Linked DNA regions of Homo sapiens: regions 1, 2, 3, 4 and 6 are each linked to region 5. Evidence: promoter capture Hi-C in 16 types of primary human blood cells and fetal thymus (Javierre and others, 2016). All regions are on one chromosome and are shown on one strand. Each heading gives the region's core, a stretch centred on a gene start or on the middle of the fragment in contact. The rest is flanking DNA. Distances are from core to core; before and after follow the strand shown. Region 1 overlaps MIR4713HG (MIR4713 host gene). Region 2 overlaps MIR4713HG (MIR4713 host gene). Region 3 overlaps MIR4713HG (MIR4713 host gene). Region 4 overlaps MIR4713HG (MIR4713 host gene). Region 5 holds the start of CYP19A1 (cytochrome P450 family 19 subfamily A member 1). Region 6 overlaps MIR4713HG (MIR4713 host gene).

Region 1 (3,362 bases), core at 579-3,078, 220 kb before region 5:
AAATCCTGATCTTGTGATCCACCCGCCTCGGCCTCCCAAAGTGCTGGGATTACAGGCGTGAGCCACTGCGCCCGGCCCCCATTTTCTTATACATCCCCCTGATGCAGAGCTCAGGCACACTACAGTTACCATGGGCACACATTGTGGTGAGTGTTTTGTGAGTTTTGTGGAGATCCCTGAAGATTTCAGGGATATCTCAAGAGAGTTCATTCTGTTGCCAGGCTCATCCTTTTGTCCTTTGACTTCTCACACCCAGATTCTCTTGGGGCTCCACATTTCTCTCTCTGCACTTGGACTACCTAACTTCACCTGGCCCGAGTGAATCCCTCTTCCCCGCCAAGAAACACACTCCCTCGCCAACATCCACTCACTGCCTAAGCCTGGGACCGGTCATCCTTCTTTCCTTCTCTCTCTCTCTGTGTCTCATGTCCAAATACCAAGTCATATCTACCCTAAATACCTCTATTTCTTCAAGCTGGATACCGAATTTCAACATGGGAGTGCTCAAAGAATATCTGCTGCTGGGAGGGTTACAGGGCTGGGGGCTCATTTCCTAGCCGTAGGAGCATAGCTAAACACTGCTTTGAATTTAACTTTCTGTTTATTGAGGTGACTTTCGGAGGTGCTTTGATCGAGATTATGGGAAGTGGTTAAAGACCCCTAACCTCTCTGCCATCACTGTTCCTTCTCTCAGTCCCTGCCACCACCATACCCCTGAGGGAGGCAGGGCAACTACACAGCCTCCCACACAGAGTCCCTGCCTTCCTGCTTCTTCTGACCCATTCTCCACACAGCCCCCAGGACTGGCTTTCTGCAAGTTGAATCCAATCCTGCTGTTTCTCAGCTTCAGTGGTCCTTGTGGCCCTTCAGCTAAAAACCCAAATCCATTACACGACCTGCAGGGCCCACCAGTCTGGGCCCACCTCTCCAGCATCAGTCCAGCCTCCCTCAGATCAGCCACGCCAACCTGTTTTCAGTGCCATGGGTGCCCCTGTGGTGTTTGCACAAACTGTTACCTCTGCCTGTAACACTCTACATGCCCTGCTACCTGGTGAAACCCTTTGGATCTCTGCTTACCCGCCCAGCTAGACATCACTCCCTCTGGGATATATTCCTGATGCCCTAGGCTACCGCATAGGGTGCTGGCATGGAAAATTTTTGCTGAAGTTAATAATAATAATAGTCCCTAAGTCGAGGGCTTCCCTCGCTGACTGTATTGCCAGCCCTGCTTTCCAGACAAGCCATTTTGCCCAAAGTTCTATCCCAAGTCTCTGACACAAGCCTGGCAGATCATAGGTGCCCAGTAATTATGTGCTGAATAAATGAGTGAATGAATGAATGAACAGGGTGCCAAAGGGATGTTTCCATGTGAAAACAGATCTCACGATGTTTCATCTGGAAAAGAGACAACATGCAGGGGCAGGGAGGCTGTGCATGATCACTACCTGAGGTTGCTATGAGAGATGCTGGAGGATTAGAAATGAGGTGCACAAAGCCTGGGACCCAGTAAGCTTTCATGGAAGAACACTTCCCCACCCCCGTACCCATCTCCTCATTCCTTCTCCCACTACCCTCCCTGAGTGCATTGAATGAGGGGCAGGAAACACAGAGGTCAGAGAAGCAGGTTTCTGGCCCTGAAAGAAGTTTTGAACAGACCGTTCTGGAAATGAAACTGGATCCTTGTGATGGTGACATCCCTGCCCTGCATCATATGATGTTGAAACAGGGGTGCCATGTGCCAGAAGAGGTGGGCAAGGGAAAAGACCAGATGGCCCTTAGGTTTCCTTCTCTCTCCAAGAAGATGATTCAATTATGTCATCTTTTCATAAAAATCTTCTTTTGTTGCCTTGATTTAAAATAGGTGTAGGGATGCTGCAAATTTAAATGTGAGAGAAATCTCAGGAAAATTATGTTACTAGGAAACCAAAAAGGTTTGGCATTCTTTCAAGAGGAATTTCTATTCTGTCACCATGTATTGTTCCTGAGGTCCTGCCAAACCGAATTCTTTATATGCGGCAAAGTCTTCTTTGGGCTGGATTCCCTCCAAAAATGGCCAAGGCTCACATCTCTGAGCGCCAAAAGCTACTTGTTGGTTATGGCCTTTCTTGCCCTTTTAGGAATTAAAGCCTAAGGCAGGGTTTTAAAGTAAGCTTCTTATTCCAAGCAAGAGTGTGGATTTATTCTGGACATTTGGGCTCTGTCAATAAAACATATAAAATTTCTCCACATTGGCACTATGGCATTTTGGGGCAGGTGGTTCTTTGTTGTTGGGAGCTGCCCTTTGCATTGTATGATGCTGTGGCAGCATGTTTGGCCTCTACCAACTAGATACCAGTAGTACCTCCCCACTTGTGACAACCCAAAATGTCTCCATATATTGCCAAATGTCTCCTGGGGAAGCAAAATCAACCCTGATTGGGAGCCACTGATCTAAATAAAAAGAATGGAAGTAAGTTGTGTAGATGTTCAGTTAGTCTAGGTAACTAACCAAATCGCACCTGGAACCCAGCTTTTCTGACCTCATAACTTGGGCCTAGGAGGTAGGACCTTGATGTGATTAAGATCAAGGACCCAAAGTCAAATGACCTGCATGCATATCCTGGGCTTACTATCTCAAATTCTCAATCTTTGTGAGCTTTAGCTTCTTCATCTGTGAGATGGGCCGATAATTGTACTTATCCTACTGGGTGGTCAAGAGAATTAAATGAGATACTGTTTGCAAAGACTTATCATACCACCTTAGTAAGGCTACAAGTCTTGTGACCTATTATTGTTTGTGACAAAAACTCTGTAGGCCAAAAAAGATAATCTATTCTTTGACAAATAACTTAAATACCTGCATGCATTCCATATTGGACAGCATAGGCTAACTGCTATAACAAACAACCCTGATGTTTAAGCGGCTGAACACAATAAAAGTTTATTTTTCACCCACCCACTAGTCCATCACAGGTGTTTCTCATAGGGCTGCTCTCTGGGAGGCTCAGTCCCAAAAAGTGAGTCAGGAGTCCAGGCTCTTTCCATCTTGTGGCCCTGTCTCCTTTAGGATCTTTCCTAAAGCATGAATGTTCTGTGCAAATTGAAAGAATTCTGAAGTCAAATAAATTTGAGAAATAATACGCTAATGAACTCTTTCTTGGAAATTCAAAGTGCCATTAGCATATGAAGGACTCTGATAAGTTCTGCAGTAAAGAAACCTGTTGGGCTTTGTTTAACCCAGTGTTTATTAAAAAGTTAAACTTCTGGGCCAAATGCAGTGGCTCACACCTGTAATCTCAGCACTTTGGGAGGTCGAGGCGGGTGGATAATTTGAGGTCAGGAGTTCAAGACTAATTTGCCCAACATTGTGAGACCCTGTCTCT
Region 2 (3,209 bases), core at 334-2,833, 130 kb before region 5:
CACAAGACTTTGTCGTGATAAAAGGAGGGTGGCTGCCTCCGCTTCACCAGCTCAGAATAAAAGGGTGACCTCAGCCTGAGCAATTCAGGATGGTGAGTGCAGATGGTAAGAGAAAGGGGAAGTGGATAACAGGAGGCTCAGGAGGGAATGAGGGAAATATGCAAGATGGATCCGCAGAGGTAGAAGAAAGAGAAGGACAAAAAGCAAACACACCCCAGGTTTGCTGGGGTGGCATTCAACAACAGGGGCAAGATGGCAAGCTTGGGGCTGGGAGACAGGCTGGGGTTTCCCCAGAGCACAGTCCTCAGAGCTGGTCCTGAGACAGGCTGAGGGGAACTGCAGAAGGAAAGAACTACTAAGAGGATTCATTATGCAAGGAGCCGCAAAAGACCTGCGAGAAGTAGAAATACAGGCTGTTGAGAGAGGTTAGAATGAGACTCAAGAAGGAGAACCAGGAACAATTGCATTAAAATAGGATGAAATGTGCTTTTTTGATTCATTTGGAAATGAGTTAGTCTTGTAAATAGGCATAGTGTTACTTATCCTGGCAACCAATGGGCATCAAATGTGATTATTAAACACAAAATACCATATATTTGTGATCCTTATGAGTATCAGCTGATTATTAAGCTAAGAGAGATTCTTCTGAAAGATGTCTCCTTTGAGACTATGTGTTCCCGAAAGCCAGCTTTTTGGCTTAACTTAGAAAATGTGTAAATCCTCACCAGTTGGTTGTAGAGAAGGGCACAAACCCATGGACTTGTGGAATCTTCAGTTGCAGGAGTCCTAAAGTTCATCTCCTCCAATTTCGCAATGAGCAGGAATATCTACCCCCAACTGCTAGTACCCCTGACCAAGATATATCTGGCTTCCCCCACCTGGCCATGTTTTTCTTGCTTAAGCGTGTAGATTGATCATTCACTGTCTTTCAGTGGCACTTAGTAGACTGCAAAGGCCGCATTTTAGAATGTGTACATGTGGTGCCTATTCTTAGGAATTTAATAGTACTAACTTCTCTTACTGGTTTAAAGATTCACTCTCTCATTCAACAGAAATGTACTGAGAGCATGCTGTGTGCCAGACATGGAGATGAGTAAAACGTGGATGACTAGAGAACACATATGGATCATTTTACTTTGGTTGCTTAATATAGCTGAATCAATAGAATTGGTTTGACTCACCCCTAGCTGTTGGTTGGAAAGACAGGGCAAAGTCTCAAGTCACTGTTCTTGGACTTATTCCCATGGTGGAGTGGCTGGTGTGAGTTATGATAGGAGCCAGAATTCCCTAGTTTCCTCAATACCTCAATTCCTCCAATATTAATACCTAAATTGTTGACCAATTAAACCCTACACACATTTATTGTTATACTATATTTGATTTCCAAAAGGACCAAAGCACACTTTTAGTGTAGCATACAGGAAAGATTATCATAGACTTTGGAATAAGCCAAGAAGTTAAAATTCCTAGCTGAGTGAGTGTAGGCAAGTTACTCTGGGAATCAGTTTTATCAGCTGCAAAATGGGAAATAATCCATACTTTGCATAATTGTTGTGAGGTTTAAATAAGATAACATGGTCTATGGTCTGACTGATTTATAATAATTCTTTCCCCTTCACACTTGCCCCAGGATCACACGCAAAGATGTGTCAACCATTCCTGCATCATCATGGGCAGGTATTTCTCTGAAGCAAGAGTTCATTTCTCCTTGCCTGTTTTTTGGTTGTTTTTGGAGCCACATGAGTAGTAAAAGCAGCTGCTGCATTATGAGAAGGTGTAAGCATGCCAGAGGCATTGGTGCCCAGAGAAAGTGGTCATTTCAGCAGGGAAGGGAGGTATTATTGAGCTCTTAGTGCTTCAGTTGGTTTGAGTATAAAACCAATGCCACTTAGAAAAAAATTATTTGCTTCAGCAAACCCGTTGGCTTGCTCAAAAGTTGCAATAGGAATAAAGTAATTATTTGTGAATGAAATGTGTTCCATCAACATCTCCATCCCCCTGCAGCAGCAAGTTAGGGATACATGCAGGCATACTAGTGTTTGGGGGCTTGCAGTCAGCCAGTTGGTGCACACTGGATGCCCAAATCATCCTTTCAATGGCCAAATTGCATGCTTGACCTGAGAGTGCCGTATACACTCAATTTGCTATTAGGGCTTAGATACAAAGTGGAAAAGATGCTATTATGTTTATGAAGCAAAATAGTAACTTAACATAATGAAGGCATTGGAAATGACTGTAGAGCTCCTCTGGTGTAATCCATATTTACAGAGATAGCTAGTGATATTCAAATTGGTGAAAGGGCATTGAAATCATCATGAGAATGTGCACAGCTATGAAGGGAAGTCAGCCAGGTGAAATCAAACAGCCCTGGACTTGGAGCTGGGATCCCCAGAGGAGTCCTGGATCTGTCGCTTAGTGAGTGGCTTTGGACAAACCACCTGGGCTCTCTGGGCTTTAGTTTTCACTTCAGTGAAATGGGACTTCTCTGCCTTTCTCACTAGGTGAAGACAGGGTGCAAGCAAAATGTTGGATATGAACAGGAATGATGTTAAAGACCTTAAACCATGGGCCCAATCCAGCTCACAGATGAGTTTGGTTTGGCTGGCACTGTGTTTGGTTTGGCTGGGACTGGCATTCAGGAACACGGAACCTGAATGCCTTTAGGTGAGGCATGTTCCTTGTCTCCCACAGGCTCTACTTATAGCTGGTCTGATTGTCCAATTTATGTTGCCTGCCTGGCTCCTATAGGCATTCTGATTTGGGAACCCTTGCAACCTAAACACCACATTATAGTGGACCAGCTTCATGTGTGGGTGAAGTAGGTAGTATCATTTTAGGGCTATCTGGAAAGTACCATCTCCTTTCCCTCCTCCTCTCCTCCCACAAGCCCAGCTTGCAGATGCCTATCAAGCTTTTGTGCAATTCCCTAGAAAACCAAAAGCTTCTACTGTAAGGGAGGATGACATTTTGAAACTTAGCTATGCTTTATAACTTAGGTAGACACATTTAGCAATTTATTTATTTATTTATTTATTTATTTATTTTTATTTTTATTTTTTGAGATAGGGTCTCGCTTTGTCACCCAGGCTGGAGTGCAGTGGTACTATCACAGCTCACTTTGATCTCGAACTTCTGAGCTCAACCAATCCTCCCACCTCAGCCTCTCAAGGAGTTTTTAAAAAATGTTTTGGGAGTAGTTTTTGATCATA
Region 3 (3,184 bases), core at 596-3,095, 170 kb before region 5:
ATCATACAAGTAGTATATAAAAATGGGAGATTTAACTAATAATATCAGAATGGGGAAGGCTCTTCTAAGAAACCACGCCCACACACAAATTAGTAAATTCGACAAAACAGAAACAACAAAAAATTTTGTGTTAAAAGTAACACTAAATCAAAATGAAAAGATAAAAGGCAAACACAAAATTGACAAGGATGCTTGCAACTTGTGTAACTGATAAAGGGCTATTTTCCTGAATATATTTCTCTATTCTATAATTACTTTCTTTAATATATTTTAAAAACTTCTGTAAGTAAGTATGAAATAGACAAATGATAAGAACAGTTATCAGAAAATGAAATACAAATGATTCAAACATGAAAAGATGCTCGAGCTCAGTCTATAATAATAGACCCTTAAAAGTATAATGAAATATCTTTTTTTAAACCCCTATCTGATTAGCAAAGACCAGCAAGTTGGAAAAACAGAGGGCTTTTTCAAAGATCAAGCTTGTGAGCCAAACTAAAGGATTCTGTGCTTTCAAGAATTACACTGTTTAGAGTTTGGACTTTTTGAAAAAAATGTACATGTCTATGAAATAAATTGGCCTTTTAAAAAAGAGTTTGCAGCAATGCTGAAAGTAGTGGCCAAAAGCATGATCAAGAGATAGGATATTCATCTAATCTCAAACCATCTCCCTACAAGCTATTTATCAATTACAAAGTGAAAAATACTAACTGCACAGTGGTGAATCCAGGTAGCCACCATCCTGTCAGGAAGCCCAAACCAGCCACCTGGGGAAGGACTGGGGTTCTCGGCCACACACAACACCCAGTGCTGTCATGTGGGTAAAGGAGTCTTCAGATGATTCCAGCGTTTAGCCTTTGAGTTTTTCAACTAAGGCCCCTGACATCATGGAGCGGAGACAAGCCATCCTTGATGTTCTCTATACAAATTCCTGATCTCTAGAATCCACAAGCATAATAAATGGCTGTTTAACGGTGCTGAGTTTGGGGGTAATTTGTTATGTAGACAAAGCAAATGGAACAGGGAGTGTCTGCCAAATTTCTCCACCATGTTACCATTTTCTCTTTTGTAAGTAATAAGTAATTTGAGGGGAGATGCATTGAGACTGTAAATATTCTGTTTCTCATCAACCTTTCACCCTTATCAAACTAGTTTTGGCAACCACTGATGATTTTCTAATTCTATCATCCCTTCTATATTTATTAGTTGGCTTTTTTTGTTTTTTTTTTTTTTTTTAGACAGAGTCTCATTCTCACTGTCGCCCAGGCTGGAGTGCAGTGGTGCAATCTCAGCTCACTGTAACCTCTGCCTCCCAGATTCAAGCGACTCTCCTGCCTCAGCTACCCGGTTAGCTGGGATTACAGACATGCGCCACCACGCATGGCTAATTTTTTTGTATTTTTAATGGGGACAGGGTTTCACCATGTTGGCCAGGGTGGTCTTGAACTCCTGACCTCAAGGGATCCGTGTGCCTCAGCCTCCCAAACTGCTGGGATTACAGGTGTGAGCCATGGCACCCCGCCTAGTTGGCATTTTTCTATCAGTGTGCTCTCAGGGATTCCTATTTTATTCAGTGAAATAGAATACATTATTATAATTGATGCTCAAATTGTCCCAGATGTAGAAGAGTCCCTTCAGTGGCCCATGGAAGTTCCTTCAAGCTAATCCTGGGTCCTATTGAATGTTCCCCATTTCTCACTGAGCATCTTCTTAGGTTCTTGTGAAATAAGATATCCTAAACTCATCTTGTGTTTCCACACCCCAGTCCTGGAATCCAAGACTTTTCTTCAAGGACTCTTCGTTCGTTTTAGTGGAGAATGGTATTTAGAAACCAAGATCTAAGTGCTAGATGTACTCACTGCTGCAGGTGTGTTATTGCTCCCAGACACTTTTGGTGGACAGAGCTAGGAAATATATTTATCTATTCATCTATGTATCAAAAAACACAAGTTCATACTGGTACCTCTAATTCCAATCCATAAACTCAGAGAACACTCTAATTTTCCCCTTTTTACATATTTGTAACTCTTTTTTCTGACAGTAAGAAACATGGCTCCTATTTTCCTCAATGTATTTATTCATTTGCTCAAGCATAAGATACACAGAAATTAATTTCAGAATTGCTAACCCACACTGCTGAGAAAAGCAAGCCTACTAGTAGAGTACAAAATTTATATATAGTAAAATACACAAATCTTAAATATATAATCTGGTATGTTAAAAAATTTTTAAGTTGACAAATAATAATTTCATTTATTTCTAGGGTACATAGGAATGTTTTGATACATGTAATGTATAGTGACCAAATCAGGGTATCAGTGTATCCATCATCTCAAACATTTACATTTCTTTGTGTTGGGACTATTCAATATCCTCCTTCTAGCTCTTTGAAACTAATAATATGTTATTGTTAGAGTCATCCTACAGTGGCATAGAACACTAGAACTTCTAAGGAACATATGCTCACTCCTGTTAAGGCATAAAACATTTCTACCATCCAGAAAGTTTCTTTCTCAGTCTATCCCCCCCAGAGCCAACCACTTTTCTGGTTTTGTTTCACTATAGATAGTTTTGTCTTGTGTAGAACTTCATATAAATAGACTCATATAATATGCACTTTTTCATAATTGGCTTCTTTTGCTCAGCATAATGTCTATGAGACTCATCTATTACATAGAAGCAGATTTTTCCCGTTTGTTGCTAAGTAGTATTCCATATTATAAATGTACCACAGTTTGTTTATCCTTTTCCCTGGATTTGAGTTGTCTCCAGTTTGACTGTTATAAATAAAGCTGCTATAAATATTCCTGTACAAGTCTTTTTGTGGATATACATTCTCATTTCTCTTGGGTAAAAACTTAGAATTTAAGTGCTGAGTCATTGGGTAGGTCCATGTTTAACTGTAGAAGAAACAAATCTTTCCAAAATTGTTTTACCATTTTACACTCCCACCAGCAATGGATGAACATTCTGGTTGTTTCACATCCTTACCAACATTTGGTGTTTTCAGTCCTTTTATTTTTAGCCATTCTAGTAGATTTAATTTTTATTTCTTTGATGACCAGTGACTTTGAGCATTGGTCCAAGTGAAGTTTTTTAAGCATGGGCATCTCCAAGGCGTGGGTTTGGTTCTACTCTGTTCTCTCTCTTCAGTTGGATTTGCTTCAGGGAGTGGGGGTAGTGC
Region 4 (3,455 bases), core at 706-3,205, 200 kb before region 5:
AAAGCAGTGATGCTTGAGGGGTGGGGCAGGAGTTGAATCTGGGCTCTGCCACTCACTACCCATGTGACCTTGGACCCGTTACTTCACCTGCCTGGGCCTGTTGCAAGGAAGGGAGATGATGCCTGTGGATGCTAGGGGTGGCCCGGTCAGCTTTGTGTGTTTATCAGCTTGTTGGAAATATCAGGGTCATAGTCCTGGTGAAAGCCGTTGCTCAGCTCAGTGGGCAATTGGAGGAGCAAGAAGCATCATCAAGGTGAGAAGTGGGGGCTGTCTCTTGAGGAGAGGGGCTGGGGCAAGCCTGGGCTTGAGAGGCCCTAGTCTCCCATCTCTCTTGACCTCTAGACCCAGCTTCTTGTCCTTTTCCTCCCCCATGCTTTTGGTAAATTCTTGTGAGTTGGCATTAGGTGAGTGTTATCAACTGAATGTTTATGTCTTCCTCAAATTCATATATTGAAGCCCTGGGTCACAGTGTAGTTGCATTTGGAGATGGAGTCTCTGAGGAGGTAATTAATGTTAAATGAGGTCATAAGGGTTGGACCCTGATCCAATAGGATTACTGTCCTTGTAAGAAGAGACAACAGAGAGCTCTCTCTCTCTGTGTGCACACACCAAGGAAAGGCCATGTGAAGATGTAGTGAGAAGGAAGCCCTCTGTAAACCAGGAAGAGAGCCCTCACCAGAAACTAAGCCCTGTTGGACCTTGATCTGGGACTTTCCAGCCTCCAGAACTGTGAGAAGTAAATTTCTGTTGTTTAAGCCATGCCATTTTTTTATGGCAGCCTGAGCAGACTAATACAGTGACGCGTTCATTGTAAATAGTAAAATTCCTTTATTTCATTGACTACCAACAATCTGCTGCTCAAGACAGGCATAGAACCCATGACCCTCAAAATGCTCTGCGTCCAGCAGGGAGACAGATGAGTAAACAGAAATGAATGCTCTGCCGGACAGAGGAAGTACAGGATGGTCCCGGAGAAAAGAGAATGGGTTAGACACCCAGTGCATGTGACTCAAGATTTGCTAACTAGGGCTCCTAAGTATGTTTTCTTTGGCCCCAACAGTGTTTAAATAATTGGGAAACAGAACATAAAAATCTAGGTTTCTATTTTTGCTTGAAAAATCAGTTTCTGGTTGCACTGGGCCTGCATTGCCACATGGAAGCCACTGGATGGCGCAAAGGAGCAGCTGCCACCTTCAGAGACACTGTGAGCTCTCAGTTCAGCAGTGTTCCCACTGCTCCCTAATGTTTCCTTGCTCAGCCTGATGCCCTCACTTATGCCACCTGCCATTTGAGATTCCTGATGTAAACTGTTGCTTTTTTTTTAAGAGCTCGCATATGTGCCCAATTAATTGTAGATTTCCTTCTCTATGTTAGTCAGTGAACCAGGTTAACTCAAAGTACGTCCAAAGCTATGATGCCGACACTATGAAGGTCATTTGGCACCATGTTGTACCAGAGACTCTGGAAATTTCAGAGCTGGGAGGGACTTTGGGAATCACACAGTCTAAGCATCTCATTTCCCAATGTGGAAACAGAAACCCAGAGAGGTGAATTCCCCCGCCCCAGGCCACACATCTGGATAGTGGGTAGCAGAGCCAGGAGAAGAACTCTAGTTCTCTGAACCTTGTCTGCTGCTTTCTGCTCTGAAAAATTGCTTTTTTCCTCCTATTATCTTTGTAGAAAAAGAAAAGTAGCAGTTTGCCACGTAGATTTGGGAAAATGTTGTCATGTGATATTTAATCCATGTTCAGGCACTTTTCTTCACACTGTCAGAGGAATTATCAAAAGAAAATTATTGGAAAGTATTAGTCGTGTATTATGGTTTCCAAGCTCGCAAGCACAGATGTCCACTGGCAAAATTGAAATGAAATTGGAATAAATTAAAACCCATTTTGTTTTCCAGCCCCTGGTAATAAAAAATTCTTGCTGCAGATGAGTGATCGAGCCCAGTCTCCTCCCCCTTATTATTAAACAAAAGCAGAACACAATAAAAATAGAAATGAATGCAGAAATCTGCTCCGGTTTCCTCTTTTGTGTACCAATGTTTTTGTTGGTCAAATCACATTATGAAGCGTCCATTACAATGGCTTATCTTTAGAGGCCCCAAAGTAACTAGTGAGGATGTGAAAGATGGTCTGTTGTAAAGCAGGATTATGATAGCCCCATCTCTTTGGGTCGCTTCATCCCCAAATTTGTGGTGGGAAGATTAATTAAGCATGAAATCCACTAAGGAATCAACAAGATGAGAAGCTGTGTCATGTGGTGGGTAAAACTATGGGTTTGACGCCAGACTTTCTGGGTTCAAATCCCAGCTCTGTTATTGGCTGGAAGTCTGACTTTGGGCAAGGTACTTAACTTGTTGGTTCCTCATTGGTGAGGTAAAGATGATGATCCTGGTCCTTGCCTTCCAGAGTATTTTGAGGACTCAGAACACCAAGTCCCAGTGTCTGGCTTCATAACTGTTATCTGGACCTTTGTGGCAAGTGACAAAAACTCTCCCTTTGACCAGACTTTAGTGAGGCTCCTATGAGCCTCTTCTCAACTGGGCCTTGACCTTGGACTTCTTTGTCTGTGTCTGTCCTTGCCCAGTCAAGTTTTAGTAAGAATCCTGCCAAGTCAGTTTAGGGAGAATCCCCCATGCTTGATATCTGATCACATTAGTTTGTGTTTAGCAAGAATCCTGTTAAGTTGATTTCACAAGAATCTCCTATCCTTGATGTCTTCTCTTAGCAACTTTCCATATCCACTAACCCTCTCACTCTGTTCTTGGCTGACAATCCCACTTGTCCTTGAATTTGAAGTTGAACCTGATCTCTCACACCTATTGCAATACTCCATTGCAATAGTCCTGAATAAAGTCTTCCTTATTGTTTTAGCAAGTGTTAGAATATGATTTTCTTTAACACAGAGAAGAGGGTCTTGTTGAGACTGAGGACCCAGGTGAGTTTGGGGGAGTTACTGAGGACCTGGTGGGAATTTTGTTTTTAGTATGATGAGAGTGAGCAGAAAACAGGTGTGAGCAATTGGGGCTGACTGCTGGCTGTCCCTCACAGGATATCTGCAACCTGATTGGGGTCACTGTGGGCCCAGAGTCTCACCCCATTTTCACACATTCAGAGGTTTGATTCATCAGAGTACTCAGGAGTCAAGGAGGTGTTAGAGTGCAGTGTATGAATCTCACAAAAATCCCTGTTTCACATACACTTGAATTCTGAGTATTCTTCTTAGTAGCTATGGGAGCTTGGCCAGTTCATTTAATTTCTAACTCTCAATTTTTCTATCTCTAAATTAGAAATAACAAAATCTTCCTTTCAGGCGTTCTGATGATTTACCACAACATGGGTTGAAAGCCTCAAATAGCTAAGCAGCTAATAAATAGTCATTATTCATTGGGCTCTGGATAACCTCATCTAATCATTAAACTCACAAGCTAAACTATGATGTGAATTAGTTAA
Region 5 (3,370 bases), core at 773-3,272:
TGAAGACAAGAATACCCAAGTGCCAGGCCAGGAAAATTATTTACTTCACAATCAGGAAGAAATGCTGTGGAACTAAAGTTGGGGTATATTCTTGAATTTGATTTTATTCTCCAGAGCCCTAAAGTTAACCAGCTGGAATCATTTTTAAGGACCATTCTATTTAACTTTTGGAAATGAAGCATCTGCCTTTTAATGGAAAAACTACTTCTCATTGTAAAGATAGCACACAATGTTCTTGGCTGCTTTGGTCTCCAAAAAAAGGGAATTGAGATATCTCCCTGTGTCCGCATTATATCCTGAGCCTCCTGTGTCAACAAAACAGGCCAGATTGATAGCTTTTTTTTTTTTTTAATAATAAGTAAAAAGTAGCAGCCCATTCTGTGAAGTATCAGGCAGGGCAGGCTATGCAGGCATATCTGCCTCTCAAGAAATCTCAAGAGGCTTAGGGATTCACACTGAAAGGCTCCATATAACCAACCTCAAAGCCATGGTATTCAGACGAGAACCCAAGTTTATCGTGCATTCAAAAGTTCTGTTCCTCAAAAAGCATCTACAAAGTGTGATTAGCTAATGAATCCATTAATCAAATATTCCTACTTGGCACAAGTCCCTGCTGTGAGAGGACAGTTAAGATAGGTCCCTGCCTTAAGAATATTGTAACCCAACTGAAGAAATAGGATGTGGAAGAACTAAGATGTCGATTAACAGCACAAGGCACAGAAGAACTAAAGTGTCAACTAACAGCACAAGGCACACACAGTGTAAGTCTCAGCCAGTTCATATGGCCCATATCCAACAATACCAACCCGTGTTGAACATTTATTATACAAGTGCTTTACAAGTATTTTCTTATTAAAGCTTCACAACCCTATGAAATAGATACAATTACAGTCTCTTTAAAGAACTTGAGTAGCATATCTAAAGTCATGCAGTTAAAAAACAGTTTCAAGGTCAGGTCTGATTCCAAAGCCCAGGTGCATAACCACAGAGCCCCTGCAGCTTGTAGAGCTCACAGTGCTTGGGACTGGCCTAGGAAGTCAAGGCTAGATGAGGAAGGGTACTCGGAGTTAGGCCTTAAAGTGGGCAACACTGAAATAGGCCAGTGATGGAGATAGGTCACTGTGTGGCACTGCGGTGGAAAGAGGGTTGGAGAGAGAAGATAGAGGAGAAGAGGAAAGAGGGCAGAGCATGGCAGCTGCTTGGGCACAGCCACTTTAGGGTGAGAGATGAGTGAAGATGTCTACCTTGTAGGCCATATCAACATGTCCCCCTTCTTCTGTGAAAAATGCCATCATCCCACACAGGAAGAGTTGGAGAGGGATCTGACAGTGGAGTCTGGTAGGAAAGGAGTCTGGCTTTTCATTTGCGCTTCCTTCTGCCCCTCTTGCCCCAGAGCAATATCCCAGGCTTTCCACCAACCCAGCCCACGGGGTGGCCATGCTACAAGCCTTTTGAGTCCTGCATCCCAAGAGGGGCAGCTTCTTGGCCTGAAGTTGTCTAATAGAGCCTGCCTGGCTCCAAGCAGGCCTCATCTCTGCTCTGTCTACTGGATCTGGGCTCTGAACTGGGGTGGGAGGTGGGGAAATGGGGAGGCTGGTTCAGGCTACCACTTCCTCTCCTCACCATTGGATAGCCAGCCTTTCAAGGAAAGTAGGGGGCCAGTTCTGTGGCATAGAACAGTATAGTTCTTAGGCCCTCCTATTTCAGAAAAACACTCAAGCAGTGTTTTCCCTCTGCTCTCACACCACGACAACAGTCATCAACACAGAAGACTTCTGCGACCAAATGTAGGGGATTTTCCCCCACACACCAAGCAGCGGGCACCAGCTGGGTGTCCTCCAACTCAGTTCCAACACTATCTACCTGGAAAGAGTGTCTGATCCCACAGGTTGAGGGCTCAGTCAGATTAAGAGATACATACGCGACGTCTGGAAGATCCCGAGCACAGGACCTTCCGTCCTGATAGGATAAGTTCTTCTTCACCTTCCTGTTTGCCTCCACGTGTTCAGCCCTCCAGAAACTCCCTGAACCCTGTCCTTTGGGCCTTTTATGGAGATTTCATTTGTTGTCCATGACTGAAGCATGTGATTGAACAAAATGTGATTGGACAAAAAGGGTATGATCTAATCTCAGCAAGGTCTGTCTGTCCAGATTCTTCTTCCTCTCTTTGTGCAGCATTCCTTCCTCCAGGGTATGGGGCATGACCTCCTCTGGAATGAGGGTCTTATGACCCACAATCAGATTATAGAGTCCCGCCTTGGGTGGATGAAAGGAGGGCAAAGAAGGCCAGAGAAATATTCTGTTTCCTGAGGCCTAAAGCACCTCTACATTATAGCAAAAGACCTCAGCAAGTGTCATGGGAGTTATGGACAAGAACCATGGACAAAAATCTATATACATGTAATCATAAGATCACACCCCCCACCACACACCACATTGTTCTACATAGAAGTGCCTTCACTATACAGCTTTTCATTTATTCATTCGTTCATTCACTCATTTATTCAACGGGTAATAGTGAATTCCAAATCAGGAACTGTGCTATGTGTTGGGGGTGACATGGCCCCTAGCCTCAGGAGGCTTCTATTCCATGGTTAATGGTGGGTATTGCTGAGAGATGATCAGTCAACAGTAACTGCAATGAATGTTAGGATAAAGAGAAGCCCAGAAGGCTCCACGGTGTTCCAGCTGCTCACAGGGTAATCTGCCTGTCTTTTTTACTTCCGTATCTCCAATGCCCATTATCATACCAGGCACAGGAAGTGCTCAGTTAAGTGTTTACTGAATTAAATGAAGATCTGAATGATGCTGAGTGTCAACCCTCCCTCTCAGTGGCTCCTCCCCATTGGCCCTAAACCTGATACCTGGATGAAAAGAGATAAGGATACATGACAGTTCTTCAAGTAGGTCACAGAACGTTTGAGTTGGGAGGAAATGGACAAAGCTTTTTACATCACTGCCATCCCCTCCCAGTCATCATATCCCCACAGTGGGGGTACTTTATGAAACACTTGGACCTTCATGCTTTCCTAATTTCTTCTTATCCTGTATGCTCTTCTAAGAATACTGAAGTTGGTCAATGTTCCTATTAAAACTCAGGAATCTAAACTTTGACTCAGAATTTCTGATTGAGATGTCACTTCAGTTTCCTTGTGCATTCTCAGAGGCTCTACCCTGGCTCACCCTGGAGAGTAGGGGGCAAGAAGTCTGATACTACTCAGCTTTCTCTCCTGTGCCAAAAAATCCTACCTGCAAGAATTGGTATGTGTATTAGTCCATTCTTGCCTTGCTATAAAGAAAAGCCCGAGACTGGGTAACTTACAAGAAAAGAAGTTTAATTGGCTCATGGTTCCACAGGCTGAACAGGAAG
Region 6 (3,269 bases), core at 496-2,995, 240 kb before region 5:
TGCTACTCGGGAGGCTGAGGCAGGAGAATCGCTTGAACCCAGGAGGCGGAAGTTGCAGTGAGCCGAGATCGTGCCATTGCACTCCAGCCTGGGCAACAAGAGCAACACGCTGTCTCAAAAAAAAAAAAAAAAAAAAAGAAAGAAAGAAAAAAGTAATGGCAAAATTTGGATACAAGATGATACTCGAAAAACAAATAGCTGGGATCATTTAAAAAGTTTGCCATAATAGCTTTTCAGTTATAAGGTAAAACAACAATGATAGCTTCACAGAACAGAGCATATGGGATTCAAAAGGCATTCAGCTTCCTCTAAAGGTTGTGCCTAGATTCAATAACAGGAAATGTGAAACTTTCCCTGTTTCCTTAGACCTCCTTTCCTTGCACTTCATGGAAGCTTTTTTGGTTTTGCTTTTGTTTTAATGGACAGGTAGCCTGGGTTGCAGTGTGAGGGAGACAGACCACAGAGACATGTATGAATAACAGCAAAAAGGAAACAGAGAAGCTACTGGAATTTGATCAACAGTAAACAATGTACTGAGAACACACATTTACAACACATGTATGCTCATCAGTCGTCAGGTCTTCATTAAGTATCTAGCACATTTTGACCCAGAGATAAATGCTTTGGGCATGGGGGGGAGAGAAAGAACTGGTCAAGGTATCCTGAAAAGTCTTTGAGTGAAGTTCTTAGATAATGCCTATTCATTTACCTGCTCCTATATTCATTCATAGTATATTTCTGCTAAACGAGGCAGACATAGAATGAAAAATTGAATTGAATGTGGAATTAGACAATGGGGAAGAGAGATCCAAACTAAACAAGGTCTCGATTCCAATTTCCTATGATGTACAATCTGTTGTCATGGGACAGCAAGACAAAGGGAAATGACTACTGGCATGCGTGTGAGTTTAATGAGGAACATTAGTGGAACATACCTTATCTCTCCTCCCAGTATGGAAAAATCTGTGTAAGAGAAGGAAGTCCTTAAAATAGTATCCTATGACCATCAACCCCACTAAAACAGTGAAATCTGAGGTGGTGAATCTCCTTTTACAAACCAGTTCTGATATATTTCTTGTGGGGGGGGAAAAACTCTTAAGAAAGAGAAAAAGGGAAAGGGTTTCTGTAGTTCCTCTGTATATTTTTAGAAAAATGGCATCACTTTGCAGACTTGAATCTAGAGTCTGAGGGTTATAAGCCACCTTCCTCAGTGTTTCCACTACATCTTTTCAGCCTGGCAGCTCTTCAGATATACGAGTTTCTACCACTCATTGGTCATTTCTTAACTAGAGTGAACAAAATTGTTGGCTTTTTAAGGAAATTGCCTGTCTGGTGGGTAAAGCGTATCTATTTGTAAGGTGTCAAGAAACAGATAATAAAATAGATCCATTTCTGCTAACACAATAATACTCCTTTAATCTGAGCCAGTGCTATGACTCATCTGCCTGTCTCCTCTTGTGGGATGGAAAGGGAGCTGTCTGCAAACCTTCAGCAGTGGGAGGAGGGAAGGAGATACTTTTCACACGCTAGGACTGCTGCTCTGCTTTGAAAACCCACCAGCTCTAGAACCGCTGTTTTCTGTAGGCTGAAGTGGCCTTTGGTCCTTAGAGGTGAAAGGTTGGCCCTATTTTTAATCATTTGTCTCAAGGTAGACTTTGGTCCCAAGGAAGCTTCTACCCAGAGCTGAGGGGGCCTCCATGGGACTGTAGGTAAGCTGGAGAGCAGGGTCCAAGCTAGCTTGATATCCATCTAACAGAACATGGTGCTAGAAGACAGCCTTGAGAAAGGGAGCTTTCCTATTTCTTTCTTGCCAGTAAAAATAAGCTTTTATTTGTCTCCCCTCTTATTTAAAAAGTAATGCAGATTACTAGAAAAATTGGAAAATACATATAAACAAAAAAGAATATAAATTAATTCGTAATTTTACTAATTGCAGTCACGGTTAACATATCTTTTGAGAAGTTTCCTTCTGTGTGTGTACAGTATTCTGCTTTTGTAAATTGCTTTTTCCTTTTAACAATATGTTGTGAACATCATTTCATCTACTCTTTGATAACATGATTTTTAATAGCTGTACAATATTCTACTGGATGAGTATACCATATGTATTTAAACAATCCTCTATTGTTGAGCAGTTAGGTTGTTTCCAATTTTCTGCTATAATAGCATCAATCAATATCCTCGTGTCTAAATCTTTGCACACATCATTAATCAATGCCTGTGAACTTTCAGCCTCCTTCGTTTTCCTTGGGAGAGAGAAACAAGAAAGAAAATTGCAACTAACAAAATAATTGCTGTATATATCCCAAGACTTTAAGGTTATCAAGAATTTTCATGGGTATAATCTCCACTAGGCAGCAGGTGGGTTATTTGAGTTCATTCTTGCATTTGTCCAGCATCAGTTGAGCCCAGAGGAGGTTTAGGAGAAGAATGCAAAGTTTCCTTCCACACTTTCTTTGTGGGCAGTGTGTCCTCTGCACAGCCCCATCCAAGTCCAGACCCCTTGTAGGAGGCAGAGGGTGGATGAGGCTGGCAACTTTGGCATCCAGCTGTTCTCCTGGGTTCTTAGCTTCTGCTTCCTGAGCTGCCAGCAGGATAGCTTTCTTGGTGGTTAATGCAATTATAGTGACTCAAAAGCACTGATACAAAGGGAGAGGGAAATTGAGAAGGAGAAAGGGAGAAGAGAAAGAGAGAGAGAGAAGAAAACTCTATGGGCCCAACCTCTGTTGTGCCCTAGCCCAACCCTATGGGGTTATTTATAAGCCCTTTAAATAGCAGCACCAGGATCTTAGGTTCACTGAGAGCCTCCCTGATCACACATGGTGTGTGATCTCACTTGTGGCATTCATTTTGGCTATGGGATGTGACTCCACTGCTGCATGAGAGCTGTTCTTACAAGCATCTACACAGCTTGTATGTGGGTACCCTAAGTGACTGTTGAGCTCTGCCCAGTGCCTTCCCATATTCCTGGATCCTTACACAGCTTTGTGGCATAGAAAAGGTCAGTATTATTCCCACAGGAGAGAAGACGGAATCAAGACCCATGAGGTTTCAGCGGCAACTAGAGTCTTTGTGGTTTTCAGGATGATAGGAAAGTACCCAAAGACTGGGTGGGGCAATGTTACCCCAGTTCTCAAAGGGAAGAAAGGAGTTGATTCCGGAAATAACCAATTGATGAGTTTTTTGTTGCTGTCTAGCAAAAATCTGAAACAAACAGGTTTATAAATGGTTAAAGAAGAGAATGGTGATCACCAGCAGCCAACATGGGT

Evidence for each region. Contacts are between HindIII fragments. The CHiCAGO score rates a contact against its expected background, and 5 or more counts as called.
Region 1: a contact is called between a fragment that was not itself captured here and the fragment with the promoter of CYP19A1 in region 5, in 1 of 17 cell types (M1 macrophages). The highest score is 5.5, in M1 macrophages.
Region 2: a contact is called between a fragment that was not itself captured here and the fragment with the promoter of CYP19A1 in region 5, in 1 of 17 cell types (M1 macrophages). The highest score is 6.1, in M1 macrophages.
Region 3: a fragment that was not itself captured here is called in contact with the fragment with the promoter of CYP19A1 in region 5 in 6 of 17 cell types (M1 macrophages, M0 macrophages, megakaryocytes and 3 more); the score reaches 6.8 in M1 macrophages.
Region 4: a contact is called between a fragment that was not itself captured here and the fragment with the promoter of CYP19A1 in region 5, in 1 of 17 cell types (M1 macrophages). The highest score is 6.6, in M1 macrophages.
Region 6: a contact is called between a fragment that was not itself captured here and the fragment with the promoter of CYP19A1 in region 5, in 1 of 17 cell types (M1 macrophages). The highest score is 7.7, in M1 macrophages.

Annotation. Positions count from the first base shown.
Region 1 is chr15:51,112,926-51,116,287 of GRCh38, forward strand. The region is part of intron 1 of MIR4713HG (MIR4713 host gene); the gene reads left to right. Among named protein-coding and RNA genes, the nearest start is that of TNFAIP8L3, 20 kb to the left of the region's middle. The HindIII fragment of the contact is 639 bases long and covers 1,510-2,148 here.
Region 2 is chr15:51,202,892-51,206,100 of GRCh38, forward strand. All of the region lies in intron 1 of MIR4713HG (MIR4713 host gene), which reads left to right. Among named protein-coding and RNA genes, the nearest start is that of MIR4713, 38 kb to the right of the region's middle. The HindIII fragment of the contact is 2,651 bases long and covers 259-2,909 here.
Region 3 is chr15:51,166,005-51,169,188 of GRCh38, forward strand. The region is part of intron 1 of MIR4713HG (MIR4713 host gene); the gene reads left to right. Among named protein-coding and RNA genes, the nearest start is that of TNFAIP8L3, 73 kb to the left of the region's middle. The HindIII fragment of the contact is 2,730 bases long and covers 481-3,184 here.
Region 4 is chr15:51,131,914-51,135,368 of GRCh38, forward strand. All of the region lies in intron 1 of MIR4713HG (MIR4713 host gene), which reads left to right. Among named protein-coding and RNA genes, the nearest start is that of TNFAIP8L3, 39 kb to the left of the region's middle. The HindIII fragment of the contact is 4,498 bases long and covers 1-3,455 here.
Region 5 is chr15:51,336,574-51,339,943 of GRCh38, forward strand. CYP19A1 (cytochrome P450 family 19 subfamily A member 1) reads right to left here and starts at 2,023. Exons shown (of 10, transcript NM_000103.4): 1 at 1,922-2,023. RefSeq lists promoters at 1,948-2,525, 1,948-2,266, an enhancer at 2,187-2,266 and cis regulatory regions at 2,218-2,235, 2,300-2,329. The HindIII fragment of the contact is 2,086 bases long and covers 857-2,942 here.
Region 6 is chr15:51,096,776-51,100,044 of GRCh38, forward strand. All of the region lies in intron 1 of MIR4713HG (MIR4713 host gene), which reads left to right. It also overlaps a transcript of TNFAIP8L3 not described here. Among named protein-coding and RNA genes, the nearest start is that of TNFAIP8L3, 3.5 kb to the left of the region's middle. The HindIII fragment of the contact is 154 bases long and covers 1,669-1,822 here.